Regions from separate parts of the Homo sapiens genome. Here all the other regions are linked to region 2. Evidence: promoter capture Hi-C in 16 types of primary human blood cells and fetal thymus (Javierre and others, 2016). All regions are on one chromosome and are shown on one strand. Each heading gives the region's core, a stretch centred on a gene start or on the middle of the fragment in contact. The rest is flanking DNA. Distances are from core to core; before and after follow the strand shown.

Evidence for each region. The method cuts DNA at HindIII sites, captures the fragments that hold promoters and counts their contacts. A CHiCAGO score of 5 or more calls a contact.
Region 1: a contact is called between a fragment that was not itself captured here and the fragment with the promoter of MIPEP in region 2, in 9 of 17 cell types (M2 macrophages, erythroblasts, non-activated CD4 T cells and 6 more). The highest score is 8.5, in M2 macrophages.
Region 3: a fragment that was not itself captured here is called in contact with the fragment with the promoter of MIPEP in region 2 in 16 of 17 cell types (total CD4 T cells, naive CD4 T cells, fetal thymus and 13 more); the score reaches 19.6 in total CD4 T cells.
Region 4: a contact is called between a fragment that was not itself captured here and the fragment with the promoter of MIPEP in region 2, in 5 of 17 cell types (fetal thymus, naive CD8 T cells, non-activated CD4 T cells and 2 more). The highest score is 9.7, in fetal thymus.
Region 5: a contact is called between a fragment that was not itself captured here and the fragment with the promoter of MIPEP in region 2, in 2 of 17 cell types (fetal thymus and naive CD4 T cells). The highest score is 5.9, in fetal thymus.
Region 6: a contact is called between a fragment that was not itself captured here and the fragment with the promoter of MIPEP in region 2, in 9 of 17 cell types (endothelial precursors, M1 macrophages, fetal thymus and 6 more). The highest score is 6.9, in endothelial precursors.
Region 7: a fragment that was not itself captured here is called in contact with the fragment with the promoter of MIPEP in region 2 in 6 of 17 cell types (M2 macrophages, total B cells, erythroblasts and 3 more); the score reaches 7.7 in M2 macrophages.

Annotation. Positions count from the first base shown.
Region 1 is chr13:23,448,625-23,452,620 of GRCh38, reverse strand. No RefSeq gene overlaps it. Among named protein-coding and RNA genes, the nearest start is that of SACS, 17 kb to the right of the region's middle. RefSeq lists an enhancer at 3,156-3,995. The HindIII fragment of the contact is 2,623 bases long and covers 1,082-3,704 here.
Region 2 is chr13:23,888,030-23,892,156 of GRCh38, reverse strand. MIPEP (mitochondrial intermediate peptidase) reads left to right here and starts at 2,757. Exons shown (of 19, transcript NM_005932.4): 1 at 2,757-3,025. The coding sequence starts at 2,837. It overlaps PCOTH (prostate and testis expressed opposite C1QTNF9B and MIPEP), which reads right to left and starts at 3,289. Exons shown (of 4, transcript NR_172510.1): 1 at 3,146-3,289; 2 at 2,115-2,157; 3 at 626-772; 4 at 54-544. It overlaps C1QTNF9B (C1q and TNF related 9B), which reads left to right. Exons shown (of 5, transcript NM_001007537.3): 5 at 96-1,058. The coding sequence ends at 868. RefSeq lists enhancers at 2,358-2,417, 2,477-2,977. The HindIII fragment of the contact is 13,692 bases long and covers 1-3,535 here.
Region 3 is chr13:23,465,233-23,469,375 of GRCh38, reverse strand. No RefSeq gene overlaps it. Among named protein-coding and RNA genes, the nearest start is that of LINC00327, 2.2 kb to the left of the region's middle. RefSeq lists an enhancer at 2,534-2,693 and a silencer at 2,804-3,083. The HindIII fragment of the contact is 5,622 bases long and covers 1-4,143 here.
Region 4 is chr13:23,385,437-23,389,479 of GRCh38, reverse strand. The region is part of intron 2 of SACS (sacsin molecular chaperone); the gene reads left to right. Among named protein-coding and RNA genes, the nearest start is that of SACS-AS1, 32 kb to the left of the region's middle. The HindIII fragment of the contact is 2,903 bases long and covers 1-2,755 here.
Region 5 is chr13:24,229,379-24,233,080 of GRCh38, reverse strand. All of the region lies in intron 2 of SPATA13 (spermatogenesis associated 13), which reads right to left. Among named protein-coding and RNA genes, the nearest start is that of SPATA13-AS1, 23 kb to the left of the region's middle. The HindIII fragment of the contact is 5,136 bases long and covers 1-3,702 here.
Region 6 is chr13:23,418,491-23,422,312 of GRCh38, reverse strand. All of the region lies in intron 1 of SACS (sacsin molecular chaperone), which reads left to right. SACS-AS1 (SACS antisense RNA 1) reads right to left here and starts at 3,342. Exons shown (of 2, transcript NR_103450.1): 1 at 3,012-3,342. The HindIII fragment of the contact is 2,998 bases long and covers 26-3,023 here.
Region 7 is chr13:23,489,743-23,493,725 of GRCh38, reverse strand. No RefSeq gene overlaps it. Among named protein-coding and RNA genes, the nearest start is that of LINC00327, 22 kb to the right of the region's middle. RefSeq lists an enhancer at 733-1,233. The HindIII fragment of the contact is 1,331 bases long and covers 1,879-3,209 here.

The DNA.
Region 1 (3,996 bases), core at 1,144-3,643, 440 kb after region 2:
CCAAGGGGCGGAGCTAGCAGTGAGCAGAGATCGCGCCACTGCATTCCAGCCTGGGCGACAGAGAGAGACTCCATCTCAAAAAAAAAAAAAAAAAAAAAAAGGGGGTGTGTTGTTTGTACTGGGTGTGGTGGCTCACACCTGTAATCCCAGCATTTTCAGAGGCCAAGGTGGGTGGACCATTTGAGGTCAGGAGTTCAAGACCAGCCTGGCCAACACAGTGAAACCCTATCTCTACTAAAAAATACAAAAATTAGCTGGGTGTGGTGGCACACGACTGTAGTCCCAGTTACTTGGGAGGCTGAGGCAGGAAAATCACTTGAACCCAGAAGGTGGAGGTTGCAGTGAGCCCAGATGGCACCACTGCCCTCCAGCCTGGGCCACAGAGCAAGACCCTGTCTCCACTAAAAAAAAAAAAAAAAAAAAGGCCTGGTGTGGTGGCTTATTCCTGTAATCCTAGCACTTTGGGAAGCCGAGGTGCGTGGATCACCTGAGGTCAAGAGTTCGAGACCTGGCCAACATGGCAAAACCCCATCTCTACTAAAAATAACAAAAATTAGCTGGGCGTGTTGGCAGGCGCCTGTAATCCCAGCGACTCAGAAGGCTGAGGCAGGAGAATTGCTTGAACCCAGGAGGTGGAGGTTGCAGTGAGCAGAGATCACGCTGTTGCATTCCACCCTGGGCAGTAAGAGTGAAACTCTGTCTGAAAAAAAAAAAAAAAAAAAGAATGTCTTGCTTGCATTTAAAGATAATGCTACTGTCAGCTGGCTATGCACTTTCCAACAAATCAACATTGGTCAGGTGTGAGTGCACAGCAAGGAGGAGATGGGTGCATGGGCGAGGCTCAGGACCTCTGGGAGAAATCGATGGTCTTGGTCATGGTCAACCAGTGACAGACTCTTGGGAGGGAGGAGTGTGCAAATCAGAAAGAAGGAAAATGAGTATTCTAAGGAGGACAGAACTGGCAAAATAGGGAGTCAGGGAGGCTGTCAGGTGACAGATGAGAAGGGCCTAGGCCAGTGCAGTGCAGAGAGGGCTTATTCTAGACCCTGGAGGGGAGCCACGTGGGGCTGTTCTGCAAGCTTCATAGGCATGAAACTGCTTTATCCTCATCCCAGACCGGGAGGTGGGAACCATCAATACATCCCCATTTCACCTGCACCCAGAATTTAATTTATGAAGGGGACTGAGTGATCCATACGAGAGGCCAATGCCATTGAAAGGGGTTTCATGACTGACAGTTGCCAAGCTGTGCAGGGCCACCCGGGAAGTGCTAGGGTTCAGCAGGAGGGAAGAAGAAAACATGCCCAGAGCCCTTGAAGTTTTTGTGGGAAGGAATAGGTGAGGCAGGGGAGGCAAGTTGGAGCACATTTGGGATTGCATGCTTTGAATGATTTCTGGGTGCTTGGGGCTGTGGGGGAGGTCTCTAGGTGTCTGGGGCCTGGTCCTGGGGTGATTTAGGATAGAAGAAATACTGGCTTGGTGTGTGCAAATGTGATAAAGGAGGTGGTTGGAGACATGGACTTTGGATTAATTGGTTTGCATATGAAAGGCATGCACAGGGGCAAGTTGTTAGCTTTCTCTAGGAATTAGCCATGGGAGGGGCGGTCTCTCCCTGGCCAGCAAGGCCCCCAACGTGTCAAAGCATTATAAAATACAGAAAATAACAAAAAACACGATTAATACACTCCCCTTGACAGATGAGAGAATCCTGACACAGAGAGTGTAGTTAATTTGCACAAGGTCACCCAGCTAAGGGATGAAGCTGGGCATTCAATCAAGGAATTGTCTCTCTGCTTAATCACTGTGACAGCTGCCTCCAGATTAATGTTAATCTTTCTAAAAGTGATAAAGTGTAATAGTTCAGTTATTATGGCAAACAATTCTTTACAAACAAGTAAGGCTTATTTAATGGTATAAAAGAGAATAGGAGGCAGTTTTCCATAGTTCACATGAAGTCATAATCCGCTCTTGCAAAACTTGAATAAGTACAATTCTCTTTCGTGATCAAAGGAAAAATGCTGTCATCATGCACCAGAATGCCTTCCAGAATTTGAGAGGGCACGTTTGCCTCCAGATGTCATTTCTGATTAATGAGGAGCAGGTGGCATGACAGGCGAGGCTGACACTCATCTCTCATGGGTGGTTTCAATTTACGCTGCCCTGAAGCAGAGAGATGGTCTTTGATGACCTTGAAAAGTTCACTTGGGGCATAACATAATTTTTTCCAGTTTTATAGATCCACAGTTTCCTCCTTGTTTAAGCAAAGTGAGCCAGCAAGTTAATTGTTCAAAGTAACTTCTGCATTTTTCAAGTTTGATGGACTAGCATAGTGCTACAAATATAGCTATAACTTGCTTAACTCATTGTTTAAAATCTTTCCGTAAGTGGAAATACATATTTAAATGAAAACGGTGAATTTTCAAACAATAGTGTTTTTATGAAAAAAAATCAAATGTATCAGTTTTCATGAATAAAAAACCAAATATTTCAAATATTTATTTGCTCTTATGTGAGGAAAAGACAAAAATTCCTCAATAAACCATTTGCTTAATGCATGTTGTGGTGTATTAATAATTAAGTACAATTAAGCATACGTTTCCCATACAGCTTTCCTGTGCAAGGCACTGTGCTGGCCACTACCTTAAAACTCCTTCTTTTAGAAACTTGCTTATAGGTGTCCATTACCACATTTAATTCATATAGCAGTCCGCTGAGGGAGGCAGGACAGACATTGCAGCAGGTATTGCTTTTGTCTGACCGGCCACATTTCTTATTCTTAATAGAAAAACTATGAAAATTGGCTTTCCCCCAGTGAAATCTCAGTGTTCCTCTTACAGAAGTGTAGGTCCAGGGGCCAGCAGTGGTTGGCTTTAGTTTGACTGTTCAAACGACACAATTTGGCCATTTGGTGATGCCATTTCCTCTCCGGCTCTCCCCATCTTTCTTCCCAACCTTCTTTTGTGTGTTTGCTCTTGCCTCCATGCTAATTGCTGCCAACTTGCAACCTTTTGTTTAAATTTTACACAGAAAACTCTGGTAGAGTGATTCAGTTTGCCCCCTTCCCCCTGGGGAACAACTCTTTGTTTTTAGACTTGCAAAACAAGTACATTGTTGTCCATGGACCTCAGTTGTCAGTTACACAAAGCCATCCTTCCTGGGAGAAGAGGAAAGGGATGCAAAAGAATCTTTTCATTCTTTAGTTGAAAAACTGACTGCAGTGAGTGGGCAGATGAAGAGAATCTGAGGATTCTTTCTTTTTTCTTTTTTTTTTTTTTTTGAGATGGAGTCTCGCTCTGTCGCCCAGGCTGGAGTGCAATGGCACGATCTCAGCTCACTGTAACCTCCACCGGATTCAAGCAATTCTCCCGCCTCAGCCTCCTGAGTAGCTGGGATTACAGGCACCCACCACTGCGCCTGGCTAATTTTTGTATTTTTAGTAGAGATGGGGTTTTGCCATGTTGGCCAGGATGGTCTCAATCTCCTGACCTCAAGCGATCCACTCGCCTCGGCCTCCCAAAGTGCTGGGATTACAGGCATGAGCCACTGCACCCGGCCTTAGAGGATTATTTCTACATTCCCTTGTTAATCCACAGCTTTGCAGGGTTTTTCTGGATGTACTCTCTCTCCTCATAACCAAGTCCGTATTGGATTCTAAGTCTTGTGCTCCTATGGGGACACTGAGTTACAAGGTTATGGTCAAAGCTTTTGGCAGGAACAGTAACTTCTGAGTAGGACAGAACTTGGCCGGACGCGGTGGCTCACACCTGTAATCCCAGCACTTTGGGAGGCCAAGGTGGGCAGACCACGAGGTCAGGAGATCGAGACCATCCTGGCTAACAGGGTGAAACCTTGTCTCTACTAAAAATACAAAAAAAAAAAAAAAATAGCCAGGTGTGGTGGAGGGCGCCTGTAGTCCCAGCTACTCGGGAGGCTGAGGCAGGAGAATGGCGTGAACCCGGGAGGTGGAGGTTGCAGTGAGTGGAGATCACGCCACTG
Region 2 (4,127 bases), core at 1,508-4,007:
TTGTTTCATTTGTGAGCTCAATTATAGAAAAACCAAAGTTGTTCACAAGGGAATCTTTCACAAACTATCTCTTTATTTGCTCTTTCTCTATTTAGGAGCAGATGGAAAAGTTGAAGCAAAAGGCATCAAAGGTGATCAAGGCTCAAGAGGATCCCCAGGAAAACATGGCCCCAAGGGGCTTGCAGGGCCCATGGGAGAGAAAGGCCTCCGAGGAGAGACTGGGCCTCAGGGGCAGAAGGGGAATAAGGGTGACGTGGGTCCCACTGGTCCTGAGGGGCCAAGGGGCAACATTGGGCCTTTGGGCCCAACTGGTTTACCGGGCCCCATGGGCCCTATTGGAAAGCCTGGTCCCAAGGGAGAAGCTGGACCCACGGGGCCCCAGGGTGAGCCAGGAGTCCGGGGAATAAGAGGCTGGAAAGGAGATCGAGGAGAGAAAGGGAAAATCGGTGAGACTCTAGTCTTGCCAAAAAGTGCTTTCACTGTGGGGCTCACGGTGCTGAGCAAGTTTCCTTCTTCAGATGTGCCCATTAAATTTGATAAGATCCTGTATAATGAATTCAACCATTATGATACAGCAGTGGGGAAATTCACGTGCCACATTGCTGGGGTCTATTACTTCACCTACCACATCACTGTTTTCTCCAGGAATGTTCAGGTGTCTTTGGTCAAAAACGGAGTAAAAATACTGCACACCAGAGATGCTTACGTGAGCTCTGAGGACCAGGCCTCTGGCAGCATTGTCCTGCAGCTGAAGCTCGGGGATGAGATGTGGCTGCAGGTGACAGGAGGAGAGAGGTTCAATGGCTTGTTTGCTGATGAGGACGATGACACAACTTTCACAGGGTTCCTTCTGTTCAGCAGCCAGTGACAGAGGAGAGTTTATAAATCTGCCAGACCATCCATCAGAATCAGCTTGGGATGAACTTATTCAGATGGTTTTACTTTATTAATTCCTCCAATTATTACAATAATCATAAAAAGGTGAAAACGGAAAAGTTATTCCCAAAACTGATTCTATGTAACTTACTATTTTTCCAGGAGTAAATATTTAAAATAGCTGCATGGTTTATTCTAATTTATTTCACATTTCTTATTCCTATTATCTGAAGAATCCTTTGTCTGTGCATTTCTTGTGGGAAGAGTGTTTTGATATCATTTTAGTGCTCTGAGGAGTCATATGAAGATGTATCCCTCATCTGTGTTTCTGAGGACATTAAGGGGAAATTAGAGGGAAATGTTTATTCCATTTAGTACTAGTAACAGCTTTAAGCTGGTGATGCTGTCACACTCCAGAAAGCTGTAGACACTGCTCATTTTGTCTTTTTTTAAAAAATGTATTTTTAAGTTCTGGAATACATATGCAGAACGTGCAGGTTTGTTACATAAAAATGTGCTGTGGTGGTTTGCTGCATCTGTCAACCCATCACCTATGCAGGTATTAAGCCCTGCATGCATTAGCTATTTGTCCTGGTGCTTTCCCTCCCATTTTGCTCATTTTCTAACCTAGGTTTTAATCACCATTCTATCCAACAAATCATTGTTTGATCATTATTTGCCAGACATGAATCTCTACTTGTTTTCTAGGATCGCCCTAATAAAGTACACAAACTGGGAGTCTTTAAACAACAGAAACGGACTTTCTCACAGTTCTGTAGGCTGGAAGTTTGAGATCACCGTAGCAGCAGGGCCATCCTCCCTCCAAAGGGGATACAGGAGGATGCAGCCTTGCTGCTTCCAGCTTCTGGCAGCTGGTGGCAGCATCACTCCAGTCCCCGCCTCCATCTTCAGGTGGCTGTCCTCCTCCTGTATCAGCCAAATTTTCCTCTTCTTACAAGAACAGCTTCCCTAATCTAGTATGACCCATCTTAATCATAATTGCAAACTCCATATTTTCAAATAAGGTCACATGTACAGGCACCGAGGGTTAGGACTTCAGCATCTATTTTGGGAGACACAGTTCAACCCAATCTGCCCTCTGGTTCCCAAAATTGATTTCCTTCTCATGTGCAAAATACATTTTCGCACCATGTCAACATTACCAAAAGTCTTAACACTTTCCGCATCAACTCCTCTCACCATCTACATCATTTAAATAAGCTACAGAGGAGACTTACTGTGTGATTCATCGTGTGGCAAAATGTCTCTCCATCTGTGATCCTGTGAAGCGAGACGAGTTAATCCACTTCTAAAAGACCGGGGGTTGGAGGGGGAGACAGGCATAGGGTAGACAATCCATTCCAAAAGAGAGAAAGGGGAAGGAAAAAAGGGTTCACGGGTCCCAGGCAATTCTGAAACCCTGGAGGGAAAATCCCATTAGACTTCTTTCACTATTTCCCATCTAAAATTTTTAACTGAGCTATGCAAGAGTAAAAAGTTACCGGACAGAGACACCAAACAGAGAAGTGCAGGATAAATTTACCAAGAGAGTAGGTTAAAAGGGAAACTTCTCCTTCAGGCCTATGGTGGGCATTTCTTGTTTACTCAAGTACCTGCCGTCTCTCAAAGAATATCTAATGTCCACTGGAATTCGAATATGTCATGATTTTACTCGCGCCCACCCCTAGTCAACTTGGGAGGGAAGCGCAACCCTAGCCTTTTCTTACTCTGGACACAGGGGGCGGTAAACCGGGAGGGCGGCCGAGAAGGCGAGGGGGAGCGACGCTCTTGCTCTCTGGACGACAACGTGCCCACGTCCTGAGGCCGCGCCCAGACCCGGAAGCGGGGCCGTCACGTGGGGCGGCGTGGGCTGCTGCCTTGGAAACGCGGAGCGCGCGCTCCCAGCGAAAGCAGCAGGGCAGGGATCTGCGTTGGAGGAAGGGACTGCTCTGGTGCTAGAATGCTGTGCGTCGGAAGGCTGGGCGGCTTGGGAGCCAGAGCAGCAGCTCTGCCGCCCCGCCGGGCGGGCCGGGGAAGCCTCGAAGCCGGGATCCGGGCCCGAAGGGTCAGCACCAGCTGGTCTCCCGTGGGCGCCGCCTTCAATGTCAAGCCCCAGGGCAGCCGCTTGGACCTGTTCGGCGAGCGCCGGGTGAGCGGCGCAGGAGGAGCTCCCCTCAGTCCCCGAGCTAAGCCGACCCCTGCTCCGCGCGGCCAGCAACAATCAGGGCGAGATTGTTTGGGCCTGGGAGGAGGCGAGCAGCGAACCCACCTTTTACAGTGGCGTCTTGTGTGCGCTCTCGATGAGGGCAAGGTCACCTCTGCTTTGAGGGGCCGGGTTTAGTGGTCTCCTACCCAGAGTGTCGGGTCCGGGAACTGCTTCTGCATGAGCCCCTTGCTCCACGTGAATCTGAATAGTTCGTTCTGGCAGTGGCGGTGAATTCGTCCTGCCAGGACCCGCCCTCTGCATACACTCAGGCGCACCCCTGCTAAAGCCCTTTAGCTCCAGCGCTACAGTCCTGCCTTAAGAGGCCTATCCCTGTGCGTTCACAGGCGGCATCACATGGTCTTTTTGCAAGGACACGGCTGCCTGCAGTCGAGTAATGGTAATTTCATTAATACCTGAAATTCCATCATCTATTAATTAATTTATTTCAAAGCTTTGGGCTTTCTTGTTTTAAAACACAAAACTCTGTTGAGACGAGTCTCACTTCCCATAGTGCCATGGAATTGGTCACTTTGATTTCTTACCCCAGGAAGTCACTAGCCTGCGTTGTCTAGTGAAAGGTGAGAGGAAGGCAAGGTTGGAAAGGACTTACCTGATGCCTGTTCTACTTGGAGTTTGTACATTTTGTCCGTTTTAGGTTAAGGATTACTTTTATTTTTGCCTTTTAAAATTTCGTTATACTGTATTGCCTTATAAAGACAAGTCTAGGGTATTGTTGCACTGAGCTAAAGTGTGTGATTCTTGTTTTATCTCCATTATCAGTTTTGTCTATTTAAAAATTATTTTGTGTGAAATTTGCTACACCACCTTCCTTAAGGGTATGTAGTGTTGGTATTAACATAGTTGGTGTGAAGAGACCTACTTGTAGGCGCTGAGCAGAAAGACGTGAGGGGAAGCCTGATTTTGGGTGGATGAGATATAACTAATTTTAGCTTTTATTTTTCCCTTTTTGTATCATGATATTCGGCACTGATAGCAGATTTTCAAATTTTAGAATTGATTTTTGCCTTGAAAAAAAAAAAGCCTT
Region 3 (4,143 bases), core at 1,063-3,562, 420 kb after region 2:
CATGTTGAGTTTTCAATTGAATATTTTGCTGCAAACAACTTAGGAGGAGAGGAAAAAAGAAAACGCAAAGCCAAACAAAGCTGGTATTTTTCAAGTGCTCATTAATTTCAAAACCACGGTGTCTTTCATTGATTTTTTACCATTAAAAAGGACAGCAATGCCCATCTGCTCAAAATTCCATCCAGAAATGAAATTATGAATTAAAGCTGTGTTACACATGCACAATTGAGACATCCTCTGTTTGGGCCTGCCAGATGACACACTGAAACAGCCTGGGGTCTGCACTTGGGGTGCTGCCAAGGAAGCAGATACACGGCTGATGAAAATCATCCATCATTTCAAATCAGAGGTGCCATATTCCTGCAGACTCCTGTTATGAACAATCTCATTTGATCTTACATTGGAACAAGCTGTCTTCAACACTCAGGCCTGGCCCCAGGCACAACGAGGCAGATGGAATAGGAATCTCTCATTCCATGCCTGCATTTGCCGGAATTCTAGGATTTTGTCAGAAGTTTTCTTGTGTGAACCTAGCCTGACAGGATTAACTTCACTGAGTTGTGCTTCAATATCAGTTCTTACCTCCTTCAATTTGTGCCAAAACTCTCATGGAGGACAGTGTTCATCATTTTTTCACTTAAAACCATATATATGAGTCATTATATAGAGCGATTCTTTTTAGATTCAGTTTCCGGGAAAAAAATTAAAAAGTCACATGATCTTTCTGTCTGCTAATGATATTATGCACGTTGCTCTTGTCTCTATTTTTGCCTTGGCCTCCAGGAAGCTCACAGCCACGTTTTACACTCAAATACAGAAATAATATTACCATATGCTAGTATTACCGTATTTGTGATACTCTTTTCTGTTGATCCTTAGTTTCCATTTCCATTCTTCTTTTATTAAGCCTAACACGTTTTTTGTTGTAAGCTATATCAAAATCATTTTGGAGAAAGGCCAGGCTTATATAAATGATAAAGCATAACCATCTTTTATTTCCCAGCCAAGTGGTTTGTGTTTTAGAGTATATACTTTTAGAAGAAACAGATTGTTTCTTTAAACAGATGAAAATCAAATATCTTCCTTCTTCATGAAGTTAACCACGGTTAGATCATCCACATTGATACAGATGCCTGATAAAAGATCAGGATTGCGTTTGACAACCAGGTTTCTCTTACACATTCTCAGCAGCTTTCAGTCTCTGAAGTTTTTAGTCTTCTTTATTTACTACATTAATCTTGAGAGTAAACAAGGTTCTTATCAAAAATTAATATTTTAATATTAAAAGAATTTATTAGAAAATAATTTATTTAATCTTTTAATATTTAAAAGATATTAAATAAGTTTACAAAGACAACAGCAACTAAGAATGACCATGACTGAATAGAGCAAAACTGTACTAAAATACAACAAATAAAATAAAGGAATATATCCGTGAAATGTTAAGAAAGGCACTGGCCCAAATAATCAGTACTGAGACTCCATCTTGGGTTTGCTTTAAAGCCTCTAGCATGAAGCTGATGGCTGCCCAGTCATCTCAAGGGGCAGCACTGTCCCTTAGGAGCTTACAGTTGAAGCCGACTAGGCAACCCCTAGCCTTGGGCAGAGCTGAAACTCAGCACTTACACACAGGACTGATGTTATAACTCGGAACACAGACTCCTCAGTTTCCTTTGATGCTTTTTTTCTGAGGGCCACTCACATCCGTCTTCTGTCTTCTTTCATGATCCTATCTTAACAATCATGTAAACTCAATCCTTTATCAGACACTCAACAGAAGCAGACTTTGTCAATTACTGGTGGAGAGAGTGTCCTAAAGAAGCTATCCATGAAAACAAGGGTGACCCGGCAGGCTTCACGAAGCCTTCACGAAGCCAGAGGGCAGGGGACATCCACCCTCACTCAGGACACCCTTGGGGCACTCTGTGCATCACCCCGCACAGCTGCTACTAATTAAGCCCTTCTGGGCACCATGTGTTTCCGTGACCTGCTCTTCCTGTGTCTTGTACTCATAATTTTTTCCCATCACATCACATGATCCTGCAGTTTCGGGACAATGCTGACTTCCTCTGCCATCCTCCGCAGCACACAGTGGGGCTCCTGCCACCCCGGGCCTTCTTGTGTCCTAGCTGAGCTGTGGACGGCCCTGCTCTCCCACCGGATCCTCCTGGGTCATGGAAGGATTCTTTGGAGACATGATCAGCTTCCTTACCCACCACCTGTGTGCCTTGGGCAACTGGAGTTCTCAAGCTCCAAGGCCTTCGTTTTCTCAGCTGCAAAATGAAGAGACTGGAACAGCCTCCTGTTTTGAAGAATCCCACCTGAGTTTATATCAGAACAATCTGAGATAGATATATAGATATAGATATATATCTTTTTACATTTTTTAAATGTTCTTTCCCCCAAAACCATGTCCTTTAAGTGGAGGAATCTATTTTTTAAAAATGATGTGGTTGTGCCCTCCAGTGGTTGAGCGTGAAGTCATCAGGCTGTTCGGGTGACAGCAGGGCTCGCAGGAAAGCGCAGGCCGTGCTAAACCGCCGAAGGACGAAGGTGGGTCTAAAGATAGATGAATCTGCTACTCCGGAAAGCACCGAATCGCCGTGTAGACCGGTCACCAAGTATAACTGCGAGCCCCAAGGCGTCACCAGCATGGGCATCCCAGCCTCGGTGCTTCAAGTCCTACTTCTGCTTGGCTATCGGGAAAGGCACGGCTTCGGGGCCACTTCTAGGCTCTCAACACGCGGCCGCTGCTGGGAATCCTGGCGGCCGCGGCTCTTCGCTCTCCAGTGGACCCAGTACTCCGAGAAGCCGCAGAGGCCTGGCCGCTGCAGCCTGCTCCCGACACCCGCTGGTCCGCCCCTCCCGCTCGGCTGCAGGGCTGGGGCGCCCACAGGCGGCAGCCGTCAGCCCGCGCCCGGAGGAAGCCCACGGCCGCCCCGGCTCCCCGCCCGCAGACGCAGCTGCGCAGCCTAGCGGGCTGGGTAGCGGGACAGCAGCGCACGCTGCCCGCTTCCGCTCGCTCCCCCGCGGGCCCTGCTCGATCGTCAGGGTTGCTGCAGGCGGAACTGGAGGAATAAACGCAAAGCCCCAGCCCCTCGTGAATTTCAGGGCCCCTCTCACGTGCAGGGTGTTCCCGCTTATTTCCAGACTCCTTGGATGCAAAACAATGAGTGAAGAACTGACAGTGAAGGCGGAGGGACTTACCTAAGTTATGCAATGATAAATAAATGGCAGATGAAAAATGGGACCTTTGGTTTCTAGTCAAAGTCCTTAGGAAGCGATTCGGCAGACGCAGGCCCAGGTGGCGAGGAGAATGGCCCCTTAGCCAGCTTTTAGGGTTCCGTGAGGGCTGAGCTAGGAGGGAGAGAAAAGGTTAAAGACCCTTCCGGTCCTTAGCATCACCACGAATGAACGTTTACCGAGCACTTACTTTATAAAGAGCACTGTGATAGATGCTGGGGAATATTCAGAGGAATAAATAGGACAATCTCATTTTCCAGGTCTACATTCACTGGAAGGGTCCCCTCCTGCAGGAACTCATTACTGGTCAACCACTGTGCCCTGTATGAAATCTACATGCTGTAGATTTCAGACATGTTTTCTGCCTCCGAGAGATTTATATGCTAGCAAACAAAAAAAGACATATATATAAGGAGATAAATAATAGCCAAGATATTTTTTGAAAAGTATTTGGGGTAAAAATACACATAAAAACATTTACCATCTTAATCATTTGTATGTGTCCTCTTCAGCAGTGTTAAGAACATCCACACCATTGTGCAGCCACACTCCAGAACACTTTTCATCTTGTAAAACTGAAACTCCACAGTCATTAAACAACATTTTCCCATTCCCCTTCCCCTAGCTCCTGAAAAACCACCATTCTACAGATGCTCCTTGACTTATGATGGGGTTAGGTCCAGATAAACCCACAGAAAGTTGACAATGCATTCCATGCCCCTAACCTACTGAACATCACAGCTTAGCCCAGCCTACCTTAAACGTGCTCAGAACACTCACAGTAGCCTACAGTTGGGCAAAATCACCTAACATAAGGCTTATTTTCCAATAAAGTACAAAATATCCCACGTAATGTATTAAATACTGTACTAAAAGTGAGAAGCTCTAATAGTAAGTGCT
Region 4 (4,043 bases), core at 55-2,554, 500 kb after region 2:
TTTCCAGTGACCCTGGTCAGTGGGCAGAAATAAATCATCTTTATATCCACATGTTACTAATATATATATATTTTTTTACAATTCTGAATTTTATTTTGTAGTCATGCTGATTAGTAGACATTCAGTTCCTAGTTATAAAACCAACTCTAAAATTGCATTAATAAGTATTGGGCAACTTAATAAAGCTGTAACCTTTCACATCATTTCAGGAGCACAGTAACTATTTAAAGCCTTCCTGTAACTTAAAGACACAGGCTATATATATACACAGGCTATATACACACACACACATACACACATATATATATACACACACATATATGTTTTAGCTAAATGGTAGAGGGTACTAAGGAGTAATTAACAGATGGGTGTGTCTTTGGTAATTGACACATACAAGTTTCCATTTAAAATCTTATTAATAAATATATAAAGAATGTAAGACATTCAGCTCCATGCCTTGTCCATAGAAAACTCATGTTATGTATTTTTTGAATACATGGATTAAAATTTGGTATTTGCAAATGATACTTTCTTTTGGTTTCTGATTCTTTGGTATTTTATCACCCTGAAATACTATATTAAATTTATTTATTTATTTTTAATAGTTTTAGGGATACAAGTGGTTTTTGGTTACTTGGATAAACTGTGTAGTGGTGAAGTCTGAAATTTTAGTGCACTCATCACCTGAGTAGCGCACGTTATACCCAATATGTAGTTTTTTATCCCTCAACCCCCTCCCACCCTCCCTGCTTCTGAGTCTCCAGTGTCCACTGTACCACTCTGTATGCTTTTGTGTACCCATGGCTTAGCTCCTACTTATAAGTGAGAACATGCTATATTTGGTTTTCCACTCCTGAGTTACTTCGCTTTGAATTAATGACCTCCAGTTCCATCCAAATTTGCTGCAAAAGACATTATTTTATTTGTTTGTTTTTTTAATGGCTGAGTAGTAGCCTGTGGTATGTGTGTGTATATATATATATATATATATACACACACACCATATTTTTATATTTTATATATATTTTATATTATATGTACCATATATATATATATACACACACACCATTTTTTAAATCCACTCATTGGTTGATGGGGACTTCGATTGGTTCCATATCTTTTGTTTTTTCTTTTTTTTTTTTTTTTGAGACAAAGTCTCGCTCTGTCACCCACGCTGGAGTGCAGTGGCGCAATCTCGGCTCACTGCAAACTCCGCCTGCCCGGTTCACGACATTCTCCTGCCTCAGCCTCCCAAAGTGCTGGGATTACAGGTGTGAGCCACCGCTCCCGGCCCATATCTTTGCAATTGTGAATTGTGCTGTGATAAACATATGTGTGCAGGTGTCTTTTTGATATAATGACGTCTCTTCTTTTGGGTGGATACCCCGTAGCAGGATTGCTGGATTGAATGGCAGATCTACTTTTAGTTCTTTAAAGAATCTCCATACTGTTTTCCGTAGAGGTTGTACTAATTTACATTCCCATCAGCAGTGTGTAAGTGTTCCTTTTCACCGCATACATGCCAACATCTATTGTTTTTTGACATTTTAATAATGGCCTTTCTGGCTGGGGTACAGTGGTGTCTCATTGTGGTTTTAATATGCATTTCTCTGATGATTACACACATTATTACTTAATAGTACCTCACCGCCATATTCTCTGGATCCATAGATCATGTTGTAATAAAAAAGTTTAAGGGACAGATTAAGTTGCAAGTTCCTGCTAAGGAACTGAATTCTCTGCACCATGCTGTCCATTGGGTAAACTCCTGATATCACAGAAGCTGCATCACCTGAACTCAAACCACCACCCTACACAGGTGAATGGCAACTTCCCAGATAAATGGTTTAAAAACCAGCCGTCTATGAGGACCAAAAAGAAACGGTCAGGGTGACCAGGGGACCAGCTTATCTCTACAGGGTCTTCCAGCTTCGTAGTGAAAGTGAAGCCCTTAGAATGGCAAGTCCAGGAATACCTTATTTCATTCACAGACTTTTTTTTTTTTTTTTTTTTTTTCTGAGACGGAGTCTTGCTCTGTCGCCCAGGCTGGAGTGCAGTGGCACGATCTCTGCTCACTGCAAGCTCCGCCTCCCGGGTTCACGCCATTCTCCTGCTTCAGCCTCCTGAGTAGCTGGGACTACAGTTGCCCGCCGCCATGCCCGGCTAATTTTTTTTGTGTTTTTTAGTAGAGACTGGGTTTCACTGTGTTAGCCAGGATGGTCTTGATCTCCTGACCTCGTGATCTGCCTTCCTCGGCCTCCCAAAGTGCTGGGATTACAGGCGTGAGCCACCGCGCCCGGCCGACATTCGTTTTTAACAAATCGAAGGTTTGCAGCAGTCCTGCATCCAGCAAGTCTGTTGGCACCATTTTCCCAACAGCAAGTGCTCCGTTAGCGTGTCTCTGTGTCGCATTTTGGAAATTCTCATAATATTTTAAACATTTTCATTGTTATTATATCTGCTTTGGTGATCTGTGATTACTAATCTATGGTGTCACTATTGTAATTGTTTTGGGGTGCCACGAACTGTGCCCAAATAAGACAGTAAACTTAATCGATAAACGGTATGTTCTCTCACTGCTCTACCAACAGGCTGTTCTTGCCTCTCTCCCTCTCCTCCAGCCTCTCTTTTCCCTAAGACACAACAGTATTGAAATTAGGCCAACTAGTAACCCTATAATGGCCTCTAACTCTTCAAGTGAAAGGAAGAGTTGCAAGTCTCTCACCTGAAATCAAAAGCTAGAAATGACTAAGCTTAGTGAGGAAGGCAGGTTGAAAGCCAAGACAGGAAAGCCAGGCCTCTTGTGACAAACAGTCAAGTTGTGAATGCAAAGGAAGTGTTTTTGAAGGAAATTAAATAGTGCTATTCCAGTGAATACAGAAACTATAAGAAAGCAAAACAGCCTTATTACTGATTAGGAATCAATTTGAGTGGTCTGGATAGAAGATCAAACCAGCCATAACATCCCCTTAAGCCAAAGCCTAACCCAAACAAAGGTCTAACTCTCTCCAAATCTGTGAAAGCTGAGAAAGGTGAGGAAGCTGCAGAAGAATTTGAAGCTACCAGAGGTTGGTTCATGAGGTTTAAGGAATAAAGCCATCTTTATAACATAAAAGTGCAAGGTGAAGCAGCATGTGCTGATGGGGAAACTTCAGCAAGTTCTCCAGAAGATGTAGCTAACATAACTGATGAAGGTGACTACACTAAGCAACAGATTTTCAATGTAGATGAAACAGTCTTCTGGTGGAAGAAGATGCCATCTAGGACTTTCATAGCTATAGAGGAAAAATAAATGCCTAGCTTCAAAGGACAAGTTGACTCTTGTTAGGGGCTAATGCAGCTGGTGACTAAGTTGAAGCCAAGTTCATTTACCATTCCAAGGATCCTAGGGCGCTTAAGCATTATGCTATATCTACTCTGCATGTGCTCTATAAATGGAACAACAAAGCCTGGCCGACAGCACATCCATTTACAGCATGGTTTACGGAATATTTTAAGCCCACTGTTGAGACCAACTGTTCAGAAAGAAAGATTCCTTTCAAAATATTACTGCTTATTGACATTGCACCTGGTCGCCCAAGAGCTCTGATGGAGAAGTACAAGGCGATGAATATCGTTTCCTGCCTGCTAACACAGCATCCATTCTGCAGCCCACAGATCAAGGAATAATTTTGACTTTCAAGTCTTATTATTTAAGAAATACATTTTATGAGGCTATAGCTGCCATAGATAGTGATTCCTCTGACGGATCTGGGCAAAATGAATTGAAAAGTTCCTGGAAAGGATTCACCATTCTAGATTCCATTAAGAACATCCATGATTGGCCAGGTGCTGTGGCTCATGCCTGTAGTCCTAGCACTTTGGGTGGCCGAGGCGGGTGGATCAGCTGAAGTCAGGAATTCGAGACCAGCCTAACCAACATGATGAAACCTCATCACTACTAAAAATACAAAATTACCGGGCATGGTGGCACATGCTTGTAATCCCAGCTACTTGGGAGGCTGAGGCAGGAGAATCGCTTGAACCCAGGAAGCGGAAGTTGC
Region 5 (3,702 bases), core at 199-2,698, 340 kb before region 2:
AACAGATGTTCATATATTAAAAAATGAACCTTCATATTACACACAAAAACAACTAAACATGGGGCATATACCTAAATGTAAGAGCTAAAATGATAAAACTTCCAGAAAATAACACAGAAGAAAATCTTTGTAATCTTAGAGTTCTCAGATCTACAGAAAACTACAAAAATTTGGTAACTGTATTTTCATCAAAACTAAGAATTTTGACTCTTTAAAAAATATTATAAAACTGGGCTGAGAGTGGTGGCTCATGCCTGTAATCTCAGCACTCCGGGAGGCCGAGGCAGGCAGACCACTTGAGCTCAGGAGCTCGAGACCAGCCTGGGGAGCATGGCAAAACCCCACCTCTACAAAAAATACAAAAAGTAACCAGGTGTGGTGCTGTGTGTCTGTAGTCCCAGCTACTGGGTGGGGGTGGTGCTGAGGCAGGAGGATTGCTTGACCTTGGGAGGTTGAGGCTGCAGTAAGCTGTGATTGCACCATTGTACTCCAGCCTGGGCAAGAGAGTGAGACCCTGTCTCAAAAAAGAAAAATATTAAAAAATTTAAAAGACAAGCCAGACTGTGAGAAAATATTTGTAATTCCTATTAATTTGATGTGTCAACTTGATTGGGTGAAAGAATCCCCAGAAGGCTGATAAAGCATTATTTCTGGGTGCGTTTGTGAGGGTGTTTCCAGAAAAGACTGGCATTGGAATCAGTAATCAGTAAAGTAAAGAAGACTTGCCCTCAAGGATGTGGGCAGGCATCTGCAATCCCTTGAGGTGTCAAATAGGACAAAAGTCCAGGATTCCCCTCCTCTCCTGGCAGACATCCACCTTCTCCTGCCCAGGAACACTGAAGCTCCTGGTTCTTGGGCCTTCGGACTCCATGACTTACACCAGCACTCCACCCCATCACCTTGTCCTCAGGCTTCCAGGCTCACGCTGAACTACACATCTGGCTTCCTGGTTCTCCAGGCTGCAGATGGCAGATCTTGGTACTTGGCCTTAATCACACCAGCCGATTTTCATATGTATCCTATTGGTTCTCGTCCTCTGGAGAACCCTGAATAATCATATTATCTGATAAAGGACAGGTGGCCAGGAAATATAAAGAAACCTTAACTGCTCAATAAAAGGATGACAAAGAATGCAATGAAATGATGAGCAAAAGATCTGAATCGGCACTTCACTAAATCAGATCACTTGAATGGCTAATAACCACATGAAACGACGTTCAACATCATTAGTCATTAGGGAAATACTAATTAAAGCCAAAATGAAATACCACTCTACACCCGCTGGAATAGCTAGAGTCCAGAATACTGACAATACCAAGTCCTGGCAAGGATGAGGAGAAATTGGAACCCTTATACAATGCTGGTGAGAATCTAAAATGGTACAGCCATTTTGGAAAGCAGCTTGGCAGCTCCTCGAATAATTAAACATAGAAATGTCACAAGACCTAGCAATTCCACCCCTAGGTATCCACCCAAGAGAAAGGAAGCATATTTCCACCCAAGGACTTGTATGTAAGTATTCATAGCAGCATTACTCATAATAGCAAAAAGGCAGAAACAACCCATCTCCATCAACAGATGAACAGATAACAAAGTGCGGTATAGATAGCCATGCACTGAAATATTACGCAGCCTTAACAAGGAAGGAAGCACTGATCATGCTCTATGGACAAACCTTGAAAACAAGGTTTTGCTCAGTGAAAGAAGCCAGTCACAAAAGACCACGTATTACAGGATTCCATTTCTATGAAATGTCCAGAAAAGTAAAATAATAGACACAAAAAATAGCTCTGAGGCTGGGGCTAGGAACAGAAAGTGACTGCAAATGGCGCGAGGCTTCTTTCTGGGGTGGTGAAAACGTGCTAAAATTAGTCTGTGGTGATGGCTGCAGAGCTCCATAAACATATAAAAATCACTGAATTGTTCGCTTAATAAAAGGTGTAGACACAAAGCCCATCAGCTGTGGCCTAGTCTTGGGTGGGAACAGGGATTGGTAAAAGGCGTGGGGAAGCCTTCTGGGGGGAGCCAAGTGTTCTTTAGCTGGACGGTGGTAGTGGCTGCACACACTACATTTCCCAAAAATCATCAAACTGCATACCTACAACCGGTGAGTTGATGTTATGCAAATTAGACCTCTCTACAGAGCTGGTCTGATCAACCCCAGCCACGGAATGTCCCTCTGAGTCCCTGCCCTGACAATGTCACTGACTTTCCACCACTTACAGAGTAAAGTCCAAATTCACAGCTGTAAGCGAGGCCCTTCCTAATGATGTCCAGACCTAACTGCTTAACCTGATCTCCCTCCTCTCCACCCAGCCACCCTGTACAGAAGTTCTGCAAGCCGTCTGCAGCTCCCTGAGCACAATAGATGCATCACTTTGCTAGAAACTTATATACAAAGCCCCATGTTAAGTCCACACATCACCTCAGCTAATCTGCACAACGATCCTATGTGGTCGGGACACTTATCACCCACAGTTTACAGGCAAGGAAAATGAGGTTTAGCAAAGGTCGAGAACTGGTAAGCAGCAGAGCTGAGCTCAGATGTGGGCATCTGCCTCCTGTTCTACACTCTTCCCGCCAGCCTGGAAGTCCAGTGCCCTTCTGCAACCGCCGCCCGGGGCACTAAAGACCCCACTCCACTGTCCCTCCCCAATTCTGCCACTTTCCAGCCAGAGTTCTTCATTCTGCCGCCTTTGGGGCTCCTGCGGCACTTACTGCATTCTCATGAGGAGCCCTTACCACTACATCATAATGACCTGCACACATTCCTCTCACCAGCTAGGCTCTGAACCCATGAGAGTACAGACAGCTTCTTTTTGTTTCAACCCCTTCTGTTCACATAGCAGGTGTTGAGTGGTGAGGTACATGACAATTCCTTATGCACTGTTTGACTTCTGCTTAATGATTCCATCTTAACTTGGATTATTCCTCTATATCAAACCAAATTACATTACTTCCTGTTCTCTCCAATCACAGAATATCTCTGCACACATGCCCAACCTACTCTACACCTCACTGAAATGCCCCTGTCCTCTCCATAACCATCTGTAGAAATCCTCCTTCTTCAAATCAGATTCAGTCACCCTTATGAAGCCTTCCTTGATTTGGTACATGGGTGAGAACTGCAAGTCCTCTGAAACCCATAGCATTTTGCTTTTACCACTTTTATGGAATTGAATCCATCAAGTTCTCCTATGTTTTAAGTGTATCTGGGCACAGGTACAACTTCATTGGCATCACCACATTCCCTATAGAGTCATACCTAACTGGTCTCTTGTATCTGACATGTGTTCAACAAATTTGGTTGGGGACATGGTTTCATGAAAATATAAATGTTGGATTATGCAGGAACTTAACTCTTATGCTTTTTTTTTAAGTAGCATGATGTCAAACTAACTGTTTGAAGAACTTCTCCATCCCCTGTAAGACTGTAACAGTGTTATATTGAAAAAGAGTTCTGGAAAGAACCGACCTTAACGTCCCTGTCTTAAAAAGCCATGTCAATCTAGGATGGAAAAATCATCTAAACAGTGATAACCACACAGTGGGCAGTCAGTGTCAAAGGGCGGGCTAAGTGTTTGACATCCATAATTTCACTGGCTCTTACCATCCCCAGGGGCAGATGAAGTTACTCCATATCCTACCCTTGAGAAGACCCACGGCAGGAGAAGTTCAACAGTTTGCCCCGGTTGCCAGGGA
Region 6 (3,822 bases), core at 275-2,774, 470 kb after region 2:
ATATAATAAAGCACATCACAAAGCTTCTTCTCACATGGCTTGTTTTTAGTTATTGGGCTGAATTTTCATGTTTATATATAGGCCTCTGAAATCTCATTTGTTAGATTCTATAAAATGTGTTAGGAACTTGTTTAATGAAAAGTTACGTTCCATTCAACAATATAATAAGGTACATCACAAAGCTCCTTTGCACATAACTTTTTTCTAGTTAGTAGCATGTTCATATATAGGCCTAATAACCTCTCAAACGTTGTTACTTAGATACTTAGATAATACACCATAGGTGGACGCCCAGGCCGTAGGTAAATACTAGGCCCCAGGTGGAAACCAGGCCCCAGATGGATATCAGGCATCTCGGTGCATGTCTGTTCCCAAGTTGACACATGGGCCCCCGTTGAACACCAGGCCCCACTTAAACTTCAGGCCTCAAGTGGATGTCCAGGCCCCAGGTAAATACCAGGGCCACAGTGGACAGGAAGCCCCAGGTAGACTACAGGCCCCAGGTGGATGCCTAGGCCCCTGGTGAACACCACGCTCCAGGTAGATACCCTGACCCCAGGGCAACATCCAGTTCCCAGTGGACATCAGGCCGCAGGTGGATGCCCAGTTCCCATGTGGACATCAGTCCCCAGGTCAACATCAGGCCCCAGGTGGACACTGGACTTAAGATGTATATCAGGCACCAGGCTCACATCCGTGCCACAGCAGGACACAATGTCACAGGTGGACAGCCATCCCACAGAGGATACCGAGGACTCAGACGGACGTTCAGGCTCAAGGGGAACATAAGACACTATGTAGGCAACAGGCCTGGGTGCATATCAGACCCCAGGTAAATACTCAGGTTCCAGGAGTACAATAGGCTTGAGGTGGATACCCAGGTCCCTGGTAGATACCCAGTCCCCAGCTGAATGTCAATCCTCATGGGACGGCACACTCCACAGGGAAACTAGGTGCCAAGTAAATGCCTAAACCCCTGGTGAATATCAAGCCCCAGGGGTATACCTAGACCAGAGCTGGACATCTGGCCCCAGCTGGACATCCAGGACCCAGGTGGATATCTACACCTCAGGTTGACATCAGGCCCCTGGAGAACACCAGGTTTCAAATGACCACCAGGCCTCAGGTGGCTATGGAAGCCACAGGTGGATATCAGGTACCACGCTCACACCCAGGGCCCAGGCGGACACAAGGCCCCAGAGGAACAACAGGCCCAAGGTGGACAAAGGCCCTAGGTGCACACCAGGTCCTAGGTGGATACCCACACTTTAGGTGGACACCAGGCCCCAGGCAGACACCAGGTGCCAGGAGGATACCCAGGACTCTGGTGGACATTAGGCTCCTGGTGGACACCAACACCCAAGTGGATGTCAGGCCCCAAGTGGGCACTGAGGCCCCAGGTAAATACCCAGGTCCCTGGTCAAAAACAGGTCCCTGATGGACAATCCGGCCCCAGGTGGACATGAGGCCTCAAGTGGACACTTGACTCCAAATGTCTTGGGTGGACACCACTCCCCAGGTGGATACCTGGGCTCCTGATGAACATCAGGCCTCAGGTTCAATCTAGGTCCCATGTGAACATCCAGGCCCAGGAAGTCCTCAGGCACCGGGAAACACTCAAGCCCCAGGTGGACATCCAGTTCCCGACTGACACCAAGGCCTCAGGTGGACACTAGGCACTAGGAGAACTTCAGGGCCCAGCTGAAATCAAGCCCTGGGTGAATACCCAGGCCCTAGCTAAATACCAGGCCCCAGATTTACATTGGGCCACAGGTGGACATTAGGCCCAAGGTACACACTGGATTCTAGGTAGACTTTAGTCCCCAGATTTACATTGGGCCACAGGTGGACATTAGGCCCAAGGTAGACACTGGATTCTAGGTAGACTTTAGTGCCCAGATTTACATTGGGCCACCGGTGGACATTAGGCCCAAGGTAGACACTGGATTCTAGGTAGACTTTAGTCCCCAGGTTCACAGTCACACCTCAGGAAAATACCAGGCCAGGCCCCAGTTGACTGTCAGACCCCATCTAGACACCAGTCCCCACATAGATAATCTATGCCCCATCTGGACATCAGGTTCCAGGTAAACACCAAGTCCAAGATGAAGAGCAGGCCCCAGTTGGGTATCTAATCCATAGGTGGACATGGGGCACCAGATTGACACACAGGCCCAACGTGGATACCCACACCACAGGTGGACATGAGGCCCCAGGTACATACCCAGTCCCCCGGTGACTATCGGGCCCTAGGTGAACACCAGGTCCCAGATGAACATCAGGACCCAAATGGATACCTAGGTCCCTGGGGAACATCAGGCTCCAGGTGGACACCAAGGACCCATGTGGGCAGCTAGGCCCAGAGTGACATCAGGTTCCATGGGGACACCCAGTCTCCAGGTGGATACTGCGTCCCTAGGGGTACACACCAGTCCTCAGTGACCGAATGGTCACATATTCTCTGGCCAAATGCAATAAAATCACCTCCCCAAAGAATATATATTCTTTAAAACTGAAAACTACATTTCTCAATCATTCTGAAGATAAGGAACTCGCAACAGAATGCTGAACACACACAGAAACGATGAAACTCCCACAACCAACACGAGTGCAATGCTGCTCAACTAGTCCGAGAGCAAGACCCACCACAGGCTTTGCATAGAAGACGCACAGATTCGAATGGAAGAAAATGTGGGACCCGAAATTGCAATATAAGAAAAGAGAAAAAGGCAACCACGCACACCAAGAAATCCAAGAAGTAAAGGGTGACATGGAGACATAACACGCCCGGTTTCCCAAGAAACATTAGGAACCACATTGCGAAATGAAATGGCAGGCCCCATCAAGCCCTGTTGAGACTCTGAACTGCAGGCCTCTCCTAGACGGCCTCTAGGCCTACAAATTGCTAAGGCCACCCTTAACACGTCCTACCCACCTTGTAGAAATTCCCCACCACTAGGAAAAGACACTAAAACCCATGTTGGTCCCGAGCTTACCCTGCCAGAGCTTACCTTGCCGAAGCTTCCCGCAGTCCCTGGGTGCCACTAGCTGGCTCTGTGGCTTCCTTGGAGGGCCTGTGGCCTAGGCCCGGTCCCCTCTCTCAGCTCCCGTGCCTGTCCGCCCATGACCCCAGAGGGACGGGCCCCTGGTTCCCTGGCGGAGCTGCCCTGTCGGCTCACACAGGCGCCGGACGGCCGCGCTCTTGCTCCCAGGCACCAGCCCACTCCCACGGGCAGTCGATTGTGGCACTCTCTGGGGCCCCAAGTCCTGCACCTGCCCCAGATCTTCATGCCCTGAGCAGAGAAGCGAGAACATCTTACTCAGCACCAACTGGGCCAAAATGGCGCCTTCCGCACCACGTGTGCAAGAGGGCAAGTTTCCCGTGGTGGGGGAGGGGGCACAGAAACTCCCCACCTACTCTCCTAGGAAGAGGGCGGCGCCCATGGAGACAAACCCATGGGCACCTTGATAGTCACAAATGCAATGCTAGATCAAAAAATGATATTCTGGTCAGGCACCCTGGCTCAGGTCTCTAACCTCAGCACTTTGGGAGGCTGAGGCAGGGGGATCACTTGAGGTCAGGAGTTTGAGACCACCCTGGCCAACATGGTGAATCCCCTCTCTACTAAAAATACAAAAATTAGCTGGGCTTGGTGGCAGGTGCCTGTAAGCCCAACTACTCAGACAGCTGAGGCAGGCAAATCACTAGAACCCAGGAGGCGGAAGTTGCAGTGAGCAGAGATCAGCCACTGCCCTCCAGCTGGAGAGACAGAGCAAGACTCCATGTAAGGTAAAAAAAAGAAATGGGTGCTATACTGAAGC
Region 7 (3,983 bases), core at 1,295-3,794, 400 kb after region 2:
GTAGACGAGGGTCCCCATGTTTTCCCCTTAGGTCTGAGAGAAAGCCAGAAAGAAGGGACCAGTCATGCCCAACTGGTGTGTCAACCGGATTTGCCATGTCACTCATGAAGAACATAAGCTGGTGACCAAAGACAAGTGAAAAAGTGTTTCCTAGCTGGACAAATATTATTAAGAAAATTTTCTTCTACTTACCTTAGTATGAGTGAGTTGACAGATTTTCCCATGCAATTCACCACAATGTTTTCTTGGACTCCCCCACCACCCCATTTTCTACGAGACTTTCACAAACAAGTCAGTTTGTGACTTTAGTAAAATACGTCAAGAGACTGATTATGCAAAGAATTCCCTCTGGAAAGTTAAATGAGGATAAAAAGTGAGCCAGGCAGTTGAGGGAAGGTGGGATAAGAGTTGGGAGGGCATAGGGGAATTGTCTGTGGGAGGAGCAGATGCTGAAAGTCATATTCCAGGGCTTGCTTTGAAGCCGAGAGAGGCATCATGTGCTCAGCCTAAAAAGAGGGGAAGAATGTCTGTGCTCATGAACAGACCCAGCACAACACCACGGTCTGGTTCTGTGCCTTCGTAACTGGCTTTCTCCCATAATTCAATTTCAGAGCCGGTTGAAGGACGATGTTAAATAGAAACAGGATTCTGAGGCTGGGCGCGGTGGCTCACGCCTGTAATCCCAGCACTTTGGGAGGCCAAGGGGGGCGGATCACCTGACCTCAGGAGTTCGAGACCAGCCTGACCAACATGGAGAAACCCCATCTCTACTAAAAATACAACATTTAGCGGGGCATGGTGGCGCATGCCTGTAATCCCAGCTACTCGGGAGGCTGAGGCAGAAGAATCGCTCGAACCCAGGAGGTGGAGGTTGTGGTGAGCCGAGATCATGCCATTGCGCTCCAGCCTGGGCAACAAGAGCAAAACTCTGTCTCAAAGAAAAAAAAAAAGAAAAAGAAAAGAAAAGAAATAGGATTCTGGAAAAAAAAAAAAAAACCCAAGCAAACAATAATTATTAGGCAATCATATCATAATCAAATACCATTCTTTAATTCTGATGGTTTCTTCATGAAAAGTTTCTGATATTTCATCTGAACTGCATTAAAATGGTCTTTTTCTAAGAATACAAGCATTTTTAAAAGTAGTTTCAAAAGTATAATTCCCATTTTAATGTAACACGCTCAGTTTTAGAAAGTTTATAGCTGTATGCTCCACATTTTATTTATTTATCTATTTTGAAAGAGGGTCTCACTCTGTCACCCAGGTTGGAATGCAGTGGCGCAATCTTAGCTCACTACAGCCTCCACCTCTTGAGCTCAAGCAATCCTCCCACCTCAGCCTCCTCCCACCTCAGCCTCCTGAGTAGCTATGACTACAGACGTGTACCACGATGCATGGCTAATTTTTTTAAGATTTTTTTTTAATAGAGATGGGGGTCTTGCTATGTTGCCCAGGCTGATCCCAGACTCCTGGCCTCAAACAATTTTCCCACCTTGGCCACATAAAGTGCTGGGATTACAGGCCGGAGTTGTCGTACCCAGCCACGTTCCACATTTTAGTTCTAAGGAAATGGAGGTACTGGAGCTGGAGTTTCGCTTCAACTCTATTACCAGCTCTTGGAAGTAGCTATTTCACGGGCACCTGGCAGTCAGTGTGAGCACAGAGGCTGCCTCCTGCCACTGGAGTATTGAAGTTCCTGCCATCTCTTTCAAGTTTGCTTTTATGTGTCTTCATGTAATAGCTTTGTTGTTAGTGTGCTTTAATAAGGAGGATGGATACTACTAATAGTCAATAGGTAGAATGCATGCTTCATCCTAGGCCCTTTTCTCACACTCTCTTGCATTTATCTCACTTAATCCCCACACAGACTTAAAAGCTTGGTGCTGTCATTATCCCCATATCACAGATGAGGAAACTTGCCCACAGTCCTGGGCTTAGTGACCGTGGAAGCTGGGATCAAACTTAGGTTGGCCCCATGGAACTTACCAACTTACTGACAGATTGCTGTTTTGATCCTTATGGCACCTCAAAAAACAGCCGGGAACAGCACAAGTTGTATCTGCCATGGTGAACAGAGGAAAGAGATTCTCCATCCCTCATACCTAATTCCACCGCAATCTCTCCTTTTATGTAGGAGAGATTGCTCCATTTATGTAAACCTTGCCATCAATGTTTACTTTATAAATCGGGCTTTCATTCTTTTGTTAAAAAAAAAAAAGTCCATACATCATTTCTCCTTTATTATGGGGTACATAACCCTAAAAGGATGAGATTTAAAAATCACCATCAAGTTTCATTAAATAAAAACATTTAGTGAGCAACCAGACTGCCCAAGAGGCTTGCAAGGATTTACATGCATTCCTTCACCAGTGACTTGATCCACTTGGAAGAGTTATTTTTATATCTACGTTACTGTTACTGCCATCTCTATTTCACATCCGCTGGAGAATACAGCTTTCCCAAAAGCCTGGGTTACAAGGTCAGAGAAATGGAACAAGTTCAAAATGTACAGCCTTAGAGACTATGTGAACACATATACCAAGACTTCATTTTTTTTTTTTGAGACGGAGTCTCGCTCTGTCGCCCAGGCTGGAGTGCAGTGGCGCAAGTTCAACTCACTGCAAGATCCACCTCCCAGGTTCACGCCATTCTCTTGCCTCAGCCTCCCGAGTAGCTGGGACTACAGGTGCCTGCCACCATGCCCGGCTAATTTTTTGTATTTTTAGTAGAGACTGGGTTTCACCATGTTAGCCAGGAGGGTCTCAATCTCCTGACCTCATGATCCACCCGCCTCGGCCTCCCAAAGTGCTGGGATTACGGGCATGAGCCGCTGCGCCCAGCCCCACCAAGCCCTCATTTTTGAAGTGAAATAAAGGAAAAGGCTTAAATAGCGTGAAAGCGAATGAAGTCATAATAAAACAGCTAATCTCTATTGAGAGCTTTCTCATAACCAAGGCTTTCCTAAGAGCTTTCCATGAATTAACTCATTTACTGTGTATAACAACCTTACTATTGACAGTCTGCCTTCAGATCCCAGCTTTGTGACCCAAGGCTTTGTGACTTGGAGCCACTTCACTTCTCTTGGCCTCAGTGCCTTCAATTATAAAATAGGAAAAATAATCATACCCGTTTCTTACCATATTTTATGTGTGCTCTCATTTAAGCTCATGGTAGTCCTGTGAGGTGCAGAGATGGAAGAGATGAAAGCTTGAAGGCTTGAGTTTCTGATAAAAGTTTAAAGGCCTGGAGTAACACCCCACAGCTAGGAAGTGGTGAGTCTAGTACCCCACCCTCACTGCACTTGAACCAGAGCGTGCACACTCCCAGCCACTAAGCATTCGCCTGAGTGGAGGCTGAAATGATCTGCTGTCTGCAGTAAGGCCACAGGAAATGCTCTTGGAACCTGGTCTCCATGAGATATCTATCAGGAACTTTTCACAACACCAGAAATGAAGGAAATTCTCATTTTTATTTTGATATATTATAAGCAAATATGTACGTTTTGGCACAATGAGAAATGTTTAGGAATTTTGACTAAAAAATTCTTTCTGGCAAGATTCTTTAGCCACTGAAATTTTAAGTGGTACTTACGGTTGTATGTATCTGACTCGCATCTGGGTGGCTACAACCAATTACCAACTACTGACAGCAAAAGAAAGACTTGCAAATATGATTTCACATCTGCATTTTTTATTTTATATTTAGCTCTTTGTCTTATCATGTTTGTCTAACTGTAGCTCTCTCTCTCTCACTGACAGGGTAATGTCTTTAAAATCTCACTACACAAAGTACTGGCTTTGTGAAAAGGCTCTGACCTATTTTGCCCTGCCTGGATTGGTTTTAACATCATGTAGATAGTAAGTAACAAACTCATTAAACCATTTCCATTCTTGTCTTAGGGGACAACGTGGTGCCCTCCCCTTTTACATGTTGCTTCTCTTATCAGCTTCACTGGCTTTGTCTACTAACCCCATGCCTGGGGA